Linked DNA regions of Homo sapiens: all the other regions are linked to region 3. The links are contacts of gene promoters, found by promoter capture Hi-C in blood cells and fetal thymus (Javierre and others, 2016). All regions are on one chromosome and are shown on one strand. The core of a region is centred on a gene start or on the middle of the fragment in contact, and the rest is flanking DNA. Distances in the headings are between cores, read along the strand shown.

What was found. The method cuts DNA at HindIII sites, captures the fragments that hold promoters and counts their contacts. A CHiCAGO score of 5 or more calls a contact.
Region 1: a fragment that was not itself captured here is called in contact with the fragment with the promoter of LYPD6B in region 3 in 1 of 17 cell types (endothelial precursors); the score reaches 5.3 in endothelial precursors.
Region 2: a fragment that was not itself captured here is called in contact with the fragment with the promoter of LYPD6B in region 3 in 1 of 17 cell types (naive CD8 T cells); the score reaches 5.4 in naive CD8 T cells.

What each region holds. Positions count from the first base shown.
Region 1 is chr2:149,485,001-149,488,721 of GRCh38, forward strand. It overlaps a transcript of LYPD6 not described here. Among named protein-coding and RNA genes, the nearest start is that of MMADHC-DT, 100 kb to the right of the region's middle. The HindIII fragment of the contact is 987 bases long and covers 1,507-2,493 here.
Region 2 is chr2:149,514,940-149,518,510 of GRCh38, forward strand. No RefSeq gene overlaps it. Among named protein-coding and RNA genes, the nearest start is that of MMADHC-DT, 71 kb to the right of the region's middle. The HindIII fragment of the contact is 8,367 bases long and covers 1-3,571 here.
Region 3 is chr2:149,037,268-149,040,968 of GRCh38, forward strand. LYPD6B (LY6/PLAUR domain containing 6B) reads left to right here and starts at 1,432. Exons shown (of 7, transcript NM_177964.5): 1 at 1,432-1,534. RefSeq lists enhancers at 502-561, 1,775-1,824, 1,865-1,924 and silencers at 1,185-1,524, 1,535-1,694. The HindIII fragment of the contact is 3,848 bases long and covers 727-3,701 here.

The DNA of each region.
Region 1 (3,721 bases), core at 750-3,249, 450 kb after region 3:
GATATCTGATATCCAGCCACAGTGTTTTGACTATGCATGTGGAGTGCCTGATATTAAACCTTCCATAAAGAGCCCTGTTAATTGGGTCATCACGGGCCCCTCAGCACAAGCCAAAAGGATTCGTAGCACAAGTGATCATAGTTAAGGGCCAGAGAGGAATGAAATGTTTACATCTTGAGATGGAGAAGGGGAGGGCATTCCTTATGCTCCTGAGGGGAGAAAATTTTGTACTTCTGTAATAAAATGGTACATTGGTAGACTAAAGAAAAGCAAGTTTTTACTCAGCATGAAACTGAGTAGAGTAAGGCACTGGAAAAAGCATTAAGGTGAATCACAATTGCAACTTTCTTATCAATTTAGTACACCTGTTGAGGCTAAAGGGTTGCAGATAGAGCAAGGATTGCAGTTGAAAGGGAATTGCTTTCAGGCGTTTGGAGGACAGTGATGTGGAATGCTCTGTAAGTACTCATTGCCATGTTGCATTGCTGGTCCTGTGCCACATGCTTTCCTCTCTACCTGTGAGCCATTTAGGGATTGGAAACATTTTTTCTAAGCTGTCAGCATATGTGGACCTGGAATTCTCACTCTCCAGGTCATGAAACCTGCTCTGTTTGTCTGACGCTGAGCCAGTGACTTTGGATCCTGCCAGAGCCCAGCAGCTCATCCTGTATTAATAGCACGGCAAGTCTTATGGGGTAGAGTTTCCATATTTATAGGTTTTATCTTTTCAAAGCATTTTAAGATAATTTCATTCCCCTAATGGCCCTGTCAGAAAGGTGAGCTCAAAATTAGCCCCATTTGAAAGATGGGAACATTAAAACACAAAATGTACATGGGAAGCACAATATGGAGCCAGGTTCTGCAGGCAAAGACACTATGGCCTAAAGGAGCCACCTAATCCCGCCAGACCTCAGGGTCACCAACTGGTGAAGGAGTAGACATTGAATCAGGGGTTTTAAAACATTTCTGGCTGCCATTCATCCTAATAGTTTGTAGTGTGACTCAATGCACATATTTCTAATGTATATAAAAATGCAACTGAAATACATTTCACAAAAAGATATAGACCTTCACAGTATTCATTATTATATTACACTTGAATATTGTCTCTATTCCATTCTGTTCCAGTTTACTATTTTTTAAAAGTCTTAATTTCAACACACCAATATTGATTTCATGACTCCACTAATGGGTTAAAACTTATAGTTTGAAAAACAGTGAACTATGTGATTATTAATGATCCTTTCAATATTTATTTCCAGTTATATACCTGAAGTCAAGAAATCAGGAACTCAATACCTGGTCTAAAGACCATGCCCCCTCACTGCTCAGGTGTTTCGATAAGGTAATGATCTCTTCCTGAATTATGAGTTCCACATTCACTCTTGTACTAACTCAAGTGTAGTCCTATAATCTTTCTGCAGTTCATTCGAATGTTTTTTGATGTGTTGATTAATTGTCTCACAAATATTCCTGTTTGAAAAGACAAATCTAGGTTCGGATTCAAGCTTCGCTAGTTAAAACACTCTCCCTAATCTTCTTCAATCTTCTGCTTGTAAAATGGGATAAATGAGCTTGTTGCGAGGGTCAGCCATCAGCAATGTAAGCCCATAGCATGTGCAGGTGCAGGCATGTGCGAGCATCAAATGAGCAGTCCTTTCTTGACGGGTGTGCTGGGCACTGTGCTGGCACTGGTGTGACAAAGACCATGACTTGGAATGCACCCCTAAGGGGCTCCGGTGCTTATCAGGCTCACCCTCTTTCTCTTTTTGTTTTGTAAACTGCCTTGAAAATTTACCAATATATCACATTTTTCTGTCAGCAAGTAGAACTGTAGGAAATAATTTTTAATGGTTGGTTAGTATTACATTTTATGATTGCGCCATAATTTATTTCATCATTTCCTCTTTCTTATTTTTTAGGTGTTTCTAGTTTTTTACTTTGAAAATCTTTTTATATAAAAGTAATGCATGAGCATTGAAATTTGAAATTGTTCTGTAGAAAAGTAAAACCATTCTCCCTTTCCACTCCATCTCTTCCCATTCTTCAGCAATAACTGCTATTAATAATTTCTTGAGTATACTTTTTAAATATTTTCTAATGCATATACAATTTTGCATGTATTTATATAATTATGTGAATGAATTCATATATACATGTAGAAAACAAGATCTGCAATATGCCTTTTAAAATTAGTACATATGGAACATCTTTTGCTGCTAGCACATGTAGATTCATTTTGTTTTCTAAGTGGCTGTATGTATTCCATTGTATAGATGGGCCATAATTTATTTAACTCATCCCCTACTTACTCAAATTCAGTGTGTTCTAAAAGTTGTGTCTAGATTTTGCTATTATAAACAATTATGCCATAAACATCTGTGCACCCTCTAGAGGTAACTGTGGGATAACTAATAGAAATGGAATTATTTTATGCGTTTATAGCTGTGTTCTATGTTACCAAGTTACCCTCTTGAAAGAGGTGCCAATTTAAGCTTATACCAACAGTGTATGAGAATGTCTGTATCTGCAAAGCCTCTCTAAACTTGGTATCCCATCAATATTTTATCTTTGAGATCTCTTTTTTTCTCATTTGGAAATATTAACAAGAATGTTTATGTTAACTCAGTGGAGAAAAGTCGGAGACATTTGGATAAGATGAGTTAATGCCCTTGCCCATTCTGGAATTATTTGGGAGGAAGGCTGCTCATGGGACAAGTCATTTTACCTTCCAGGAGAGATTCAACACTGGCCATTGACTATATGTGCAGCACACACTTCTTCTGAAGGCTTGAGGCATCTACCGTGTGACAGATCATGAATCAAATGACCTGCAAGCTTAGAGAGCCTTTCTCAGCCCTGCCACATGCAGCTATGTTGATGCTGATGTGACTGATTTTACTTCCTTCCCTTTATTCACCAACAGAGAGGTCGCTATCACACCACCAACTTCTGTTGCTTAGGTCCTGGCTTATGAAGAATAGACTCTGGGAGCACATTGGAAATCAACACTCTTGCCTTATGATGCAGGACAGATGCTGAAATTCTCTTAAGAGTAGCTTTATGATTATTTTCTTTGGAAACATGGATTAACTCACTTGCCATCTTCAGGCAGAAGAAAAACCTCATCCCCTCCCCACCCCACCCCATCCCTTTTAGATTCTGCAACTCTGTATTCTGAATTTTTGTTAAGAAAATCTACAAATTAGAAATATCATTTTAGGGACAATCAATATCAGGTTTCAATATAACAGCAACTGTTAAATAAGAGAAAATACCTACTTTCAAAGCCCGCATATCAATAAATAGTAATAATAAAGAAGTAGTAAAACTGGCTCAAGGAAACTAGCAGATTCAAATGAAAACTAGCAGATGATTCAAAACTAGCAGATTCAAATGACCAAATGTACACAGAAGCAGCAAGATTTCTATTGTTAAAATGTGACAAGGGACCTCAGAAATAATTAAACCAAACATCCTCAGTTCATTTGATAGAGGAGAACATGGATACACAAAGAGGAGATATGACTTATCCCAGGTCACATAGTAAGTTAGAGGCACTGTCGTGACCTATGATAATAGCAAATAAGAATGGCATGTTGAATTCTCAACAGCGTGTACATTTGGTATTGAAAGGGAATTATTTTTATGTACAGAATGCTCTTTTGTGAGCTGAAATAACGTCATGTATTGAATGCGCTAAAACCAAATGGATGCAATA
Region 2 (3,571 bases), core at 776-3,275, 480 kb after region 3:
GAGAGGTGTGGGAGTTTGAGGAAAGAGGAGAACGTATAATATTACTATCTCAGGGGTATTCAAAATGCACATCAGTATATATATACTGAGACCGAGTATATATATTTTGAGACTGAGTCTCTCGCTCTGTTGCCCAGGCTGGCATGATCTTGGCTCACCACAATCTCCATCTCCTGGGCAACAGAGCGATTCTCCTGCCTCAGCCTCCTGAGTAGCTGGGACGACAGGCACATGCCCGGTTAATGTTTATATTTTTAGTAGTGACAGGGTTTCACTATGTTGGCCAGGCTGGTCTCGAACTCCTGACCTTGTGATCTGCCTGCCTCAGCCTCCCAAAGTGCTGGGATTACAGGCGTGAGCCACCGCTCCCGGCCTGCACATCAGTAGCTTAAAGTCTCTGAGAAGCCCTATTTTGTGAAAAAGCCACCTACTTAAATTTATATACAAGCTGAGGAAGATTCACGTTTGATGGGTATCAAAGTTTATACAATCTGAAGGTCCTTTTTAAGAAAAAGAACACAGAATTATGAACACAAAATTCAGAACAGAGCCTTGGAAGGGACTTATGAAAACAAGAAGATTTAGCTTCCTTAGCTTTACCATAGACCCACTTGTATCTACATGTTACAATGCCTGTATTTGCTCACCCAAAGACTTTCCCCTCCTCATGCCTACTAATAACTCCCAGAACAGGCTTGATTCACAGCAATTTGGGATGTGCTGGCACAGACTGTTGCAGCTTTCCCTAACTTGTTTCCTTTCTTCCATTCTTCATCTAAAATGTAAATACATCATCCCACAGCGTTATTTTTCTAGACATGATTTTTCTAGGACACCAGCCTCATCCCCACAATCCATCTCTCTTCATGACTTAGGTTCCAACCTCTCTAGATGAGCGCCTTCCCCACTTATTAGACCACAACCCACAATAAGAAGTATGTTTTACATTATGACCCAATACTCATACATATCATTGAAAAAAATTTCACAAAACCAACCTTAACTTTTCTATGTGTGATGCACTCTAATTGTCTTGCTGATATACTCCATATACAAAAATAATCCTGGTAGGGCCACAGTAAAATAATTCTTACAGCCGGCAGGTTGAGAAACACTCCCTGGTCAGCATTGCACCCCTAATGCTTTTTTATGCTGCCATGCTTTGCTTTTGTGGCTCCCTCACTTTTGTGGATTGTCCTTTACCCCTGTTATGACTCTGCAAATCCTTTTCACCCCTCCAGTTTCAACTCATATTCTACCTTTTATATAAAGCCATCATCCGTTGAATCCTCTGTGCTCTCCAACATTTTGCATTCACATTGCTATGGGAAATATTTCATTCTGCTTTTGATTATAATTAATTATGTAAAATTCAGTCCTTTTTACTTCATTGTAAAGTCCTTGAGGGCAGGATCAGGTCATTTATAGACGTGGTCATTTCTATAAATCCTACAGCATCCAGCACCCAGTACCTTGCAAATTATTAAAGTAGGAAGAAATTAAAGTGGCTCACAAGGTTGTTGTGAGGATTCAATGAGATAATATATTTTAACAATAGTGGTATAACTAATATTTATGATAACTTGTTTTAAAATGAAGTAGCTGGCTTATGGTTGCACAAATAATAACTGGTGTTGCCAGGACTCAAGGCAAGCCCGATATTGGTAGCCACCACATTACTGTCTTATTCAAGTGCTTAGCCCATAGGAAGGATTCAGTAACTGGTAACTATTATTGTCACTTAACAAAAGGGTGTTGAATCAAAGCTGAATGAATGAATTAGACAGAGACTGTAGATTATGTATAATAGCCTTTGGGCCTAGGGATAATTCCATTCATCATTCTGCTATTAGTTTGCTATTTAGTCTGCTGTTTTATTTTTCTGTGTGAGTGGTTGTGACTATATGATTAAAAATCACCAGATGAGGAAAATGAATTTACTGTCTTCAGTAGTCTTAACGGCCACATCAGATTAACTGCAAGACTGATTCAACTATGAACAAATTAGACATTAAGATAGATGAAAAAAATCCAATTTGACCAAAAATAATTTTGAGACTGCATAGATAAAACTAATTTTCTTCCTTTGTGCACTTTAGTTCAATTCAGTCTTTCAAATATATGGTGTAAGGCACTGCAGGAAAATATATGGTGTAAGGCACTGCAAAAAAAAAAAAAAAAGCAATGTCTTTTGTTACCAAGGAATGTATAATCAAGTGTGAATATCTTGGGGGTGGGGGTAAAGGAATATGATGTCTATCTAAATAAACAACCTTAATAGAAGGCAGAGCAAGAGCTGTTTCACGAGGTTTCAATGAGCTCTGAGGCTCCAAGGAGGAATGAATTGTTTCTCCAATGAGGGAATTGTAGAGGGGAAAGGTATTAAAAAGTGGAATGGACAAATGTGATTCTGGTTCTCAAAATGAAGAAGCAGCATTTTTTCACTAAAGATCATTGGGAAGTGTATAGATTCCAAGTAAGATTCTAGTATTAATTATTAACAGGATGGCGGTGAGAAAGGAATCTGGTGATCACAAATATTGAAAAAGTCTGCTGTGAAGAATTGTTACCAATCCTATTGACACTATTCGACAAGATAGAGAAAGAGGGAACCCTCCCTAAGTCATTCTATAAAGCCATTATCACCCTAATACCAAAACCAGGAAAGGACATAACCAAAAAAGGAAACTATAGACAGATATTGCTGGTGAACATAGATGCTAAAATGCTTAACAAAATACTAACTAACCGAATCCAACAATATGTCAAAAAGATAATCTACCATGATCAACTGGGGTTCATACAAGGGTTGCAGAGATGGTTTAACATATGCAAGTCAACAAATGTGATACACCACATAAACATAATTAAAAACAAAAATCACATGATCATCTGAATAGATGCAGAAAAAGCATTCAACAAAATCCAGCATCGCTTTATGATAAAAACTCTAAGCAAAATCAGCATACAAGGGACATACCTCAATGTAATAAAAGCCACCTATGACAAACCCACAGCCAACATAATACTGAATGGGAAAAAGTTGAAAGCATTCCCTCTGAGAACTGGAACAAGACAAGGATGCCCAATCTTACCACTCCTCTTCAACATAGTACTGGAAGTCCTAGCCAGAGCAATCAGACAAGAGAAAAAAATAAAGGACATCCAAATCTGTAAAAAGTAAGTCAAACTGTCACTGCTTGCAGATAATATTATTGTTTAACTCAAAAACCTTAAAGACTCCTCCAGAAAGCTCTTAGAACTGATAAAAGAATTCAGCAAAGTTTCCAGATACAATACTGATGTAAACAAATCAGTAGCTCTTCTATACACCAACAGCGACCAAGCGCAGAATCAAATCAAGAACTCATAGCCTTTCACAATAGCTGAAAAAGAAAATACTTAGGAATATACTTAACCAAGGAGGTGAAAGACCTCTACAAGTAACCCTACAAAACACTGCTGAAAGAAATTGTAGACAACACAAAAAAATGGAAACACATCCCATGCTCATGGATAGGTAGAATCAGTAGTGTGAAAATGACCATACTGCCAAAAGCAATCTACAAAT
Region 3 (3,701 bases), core at 182-2,681:
AATAGTCATAAGAAGGAATGTTCTCCATACAACTTTAAAGTTGTACAGTGCTTTCTGCAGTGAAATGAATTTTTTCACGGAATGGATTTTTTTAACGAGTCTTGAAATTAACATGTGAGGAGCAGCATGACACATTACCTCGTGTGTGTGTGTGTGTGTGTGTGTGTGTGTGTGTGTGTGTGTGAGTGAAGGCCATTTGTTAAATGGAACACCTAAAAATACCATTGTTTTTGTTTTTGCGGTTGTCAGGGGCCTCAATAAATGCAAGCTGGCTCAGGAGATGCTTGACCTCAGAGGTCTGGAAAGACAGATTAGAAGTCTCAGCAGAGGACCAAACCCAGACCCCACTTCTGCAGAAGTTCTGTACCCAGGTTTCCCCACTGCAGGCATAACCAGCAGCCCCTCAAAGGCCCCAGACCAGCCAACTGTCTTTAGAAATGCAGACCCAGGATCAGCTTTGCTACCAGCCATGGAATCTTGGGTCAGTGGCCCATACTCTGAGCTGTGTTTCCACAGTGCAAGGCTGGCCGGACAGTGTTTTATTTCAGAGTTCTCCTGTCTGTGGCATCTTCAGAAGTTAAAGATTTGCTTGACCACTATAAGGTGCCCTGGGAGTGTAGACCTCCCACATCCCAGCTGCCTGGCTGGCAGTGGGTGGGGAGTAAGCAGTAGAGAGAGGACAGGTGGCCCGGAATCTAACAGCTTGCCTCTGGATTCTCCCTAGTAAGCTTGGAATGATGCTGGAGCAGCTCTGGGCCGAGGGGACCAGTCTAACGCTGGACGCAAAAGACTGGGCGCCACCTAGTCTGTTCATCAGGTATTAAATGCCCTGAGTTTTCAAAGCTCTGGTGATTCAGTAGTGGACGGGTAAGGTTCCTGCCTCTCCTGGGGCTTACCGTCCAGGGGTGGGGAGGACGTCACTATATGAAATTATCTTATTTATAGCTTAATGTCATTATTTAAAAAGGGGGAGGGAATCACTTGACGGGTGGGCAAGGTGGGGACGGGGTTGGATGGAATGGTCAAAAAAGGTCTTTCAGAGTTCTTCCAATCCTGAACTAACTCACCTGCACCCTTGGCCCAATCATTTTCACTCCCGAGGGTCTGCACTCCTCGTTTCTACATTGGTTTTCTAGGAAGAAAGGGGTTGGACCCTCCCCTCTTTAAGCTGGGTGGGGTCCGAATCCCGTGCTTCTTTCACTTCCTGAGCCGGGCTGGCTGGGTGGGAACAGGCTCCTTGCCGCCTCCCCAGCGCTGGCCACTACCACACTGCCGCCCGCCTGGGCCTCCTTTCAACCTCGTGGTGGAGCCCTGCGGTTTCCCAGCGGAGCCGGGCCCGGGGCTGCTCCCTCGCGGGCGAGGCTCACCTGTCCCGGCCCGGCCCCCTCCCGCGCCCCAGGTGGTTCAGGGCAGGGAGGAGCCGCGCCCCGCCCCGCGCGGTAGCAGCCAACGCCGGCCCCAGGCGGGTGCGCTGGGAGCCTGGGCCGGGAGCCGGGTGAGGGCGCCGAGAGGCTCGGTGGGCGCGGGCGGCGAGGTGAGCTGGGCCAGCGCAGCAGGCGGGGGCGGTGGTGGGTTCGGGACGGCTCACCCCGCGCCGGAGCGAGTGCGGGGCCGCGCGACTGCGGCGGGAGATGCGCTGCGCCCCTTCTGGGCGCGCTGGGGCAGCCAGGAGCTCGCGGGGCCGCGGGGCCGCGGGGCCGCGGGGCCGCGGCGCAGTGGCGGGGTCGGGGTCTGGTCGCTGCCTCGAGGCGAGCAGCTGCCAACATCTGGACGGGACGGGAGCAGGGGGCCGGGGCAAGGCTGGAGCGGTGTGGGTCTCTAATCGTCCAGAGCCCTGCGGGGCCAGTGACTTCGGCAGAGCCGAGGGGAGAGGAGATACTGGGGGTCAAACTGCTGGAGAGAGCGCGGAGCTGGGGCTGGGGTTCAAGGCCGATCGTGGGGCCAAGAGCGAGCGTGCCAGCTCCAGTGTTTCCCCCTGCAGCGCTTCACGCGCGACCAGCTTGGGTGCCGCCGCTTCCCTTGCCCCGGCTCTTTACTTTTGTTGTTGAATAACCTACCTTACACATTGGTTAGTTACCTGGGGCTTCTCAAAAGCCGGGTCTGGAGGCTGCTCTGACTCCAGGGGGCTTGGGTTGTGAGGCTTCAGGTCTGTATGCCCTGTGGCGTTTGGGGGGAGCTGGTGGGTGGAGGGGTGCTGTCCACCTCCCAAGGCCAGGGGATCAGAGAGTGGGAAAAGTCTAGAATGCTATTTAAATTCCAGTAACTAGCTGTGTGACCTTGGGCAAGTTACTGAACTGCTCTGAGCCTCAGTTCCCTTAAAGTAAAATAGGTATTATTAATATTATAATCATTACAACAGACTTAGGTTATATGATGTTCATGGAGTACATAGCATACTGCTTGATTTTTCCCCCTTTGTGTTGATGTGGTGATGTGTGTGTTGTGGGGTGGGGGCATTCTTTCCCACCCTGACTTGTTCATGGTTAGGCTTCCTCCAGGATGCCTTACTTGCTGACAGCATCACAGAGGCCAAGATTAGGGCTGCCAGTGCACGGGCCCTGCAGATGGAGGGGGTGTTGTCAGACTGCCCTCATCATTACCCATCGTATTTGTCAGAATTGTTTTCTTTGGGTTGGGTTTTGGTCACTTGAAAATTGCCTTATACTATGTAGAAATTGATTGGGTCACATAAATGAAAAGGTCGAGGGTTTCAGTTTAAAGCTATAGCTAGTTCCAGAGGCTCATACAAGGTTCCAGGGCTAGTTCTCTCTCTTGTATATCTTAGCTGTTTTTCTCTCTGTGTTTACTGGTTCTTAGTATGGACGATAAATAGGACTTGCACCTTCAGGCTTATCTGCTCCTTCAGAGAGAGAGACAGAGACAAAGAGGGAGAGAGAGAATCCCATCTTCTCTATCCGTATAGCAGTCTCTCTCTGTCTCTCTCTCTCTCTCTCTTTTTTTTTTTTTCTTTTGAGACAGACTCTCACTCTGTCACCCAGGCTGGAGTGCAGTGGTGTGATCTCGGCTCACTGCATGCAACCTCCACCTCCCAGGTCCAAGCGATTATCCTGCCTCAGCCTCCCAAGTAGCTGGAGTTACAGGCGCCGGCCACCACGTGGGACTAATTTTTGTATTTTTAGTGGAGATGAGGTTTCACCATGTTGGCCAGGCTGGTCTCGAACTCCTAACCTCAAGTGATCTGCCCGTCTTGGCCTCCCAAAGTGCTGGGATTATAGGAGTGAGCCACTGCACCCGGCCCCTTATAGCAATCTTATTGACATACTGGACCAAAACAGAACCAAGCCATCTCAGCAGACAGGGAGAGGTTTACACAACAGGAATGGGCACATGACCGACTGTGATTGATAGACTGGCCCACCTCTGCTGCAAGGCATGTCGGTAGGGGGCGCAATTCCCAATGAGAAGTCTGACAAAACAGGACATGTTCATTTTACTATCTCTGTCTTTGCTCACCAGCGCCTAAAGGTAGTCTGCAGTAGAATGTAGACAGCCTGAGGGCCGTATTCCATCAGTCAAGTCTTCATCTAATGCATGGAGGGCATCCTGTGTGTCCATCTTTTCATTCATTGTTTTTTGTTTATTCATTCATTCGACATATAATAAATGCTCAACATATGCCAGGGCCTCTGCCAAGGGCGAAAATGCTTGCTTTTGAGAAGCTCACAGTCTAGTTGGAAAGA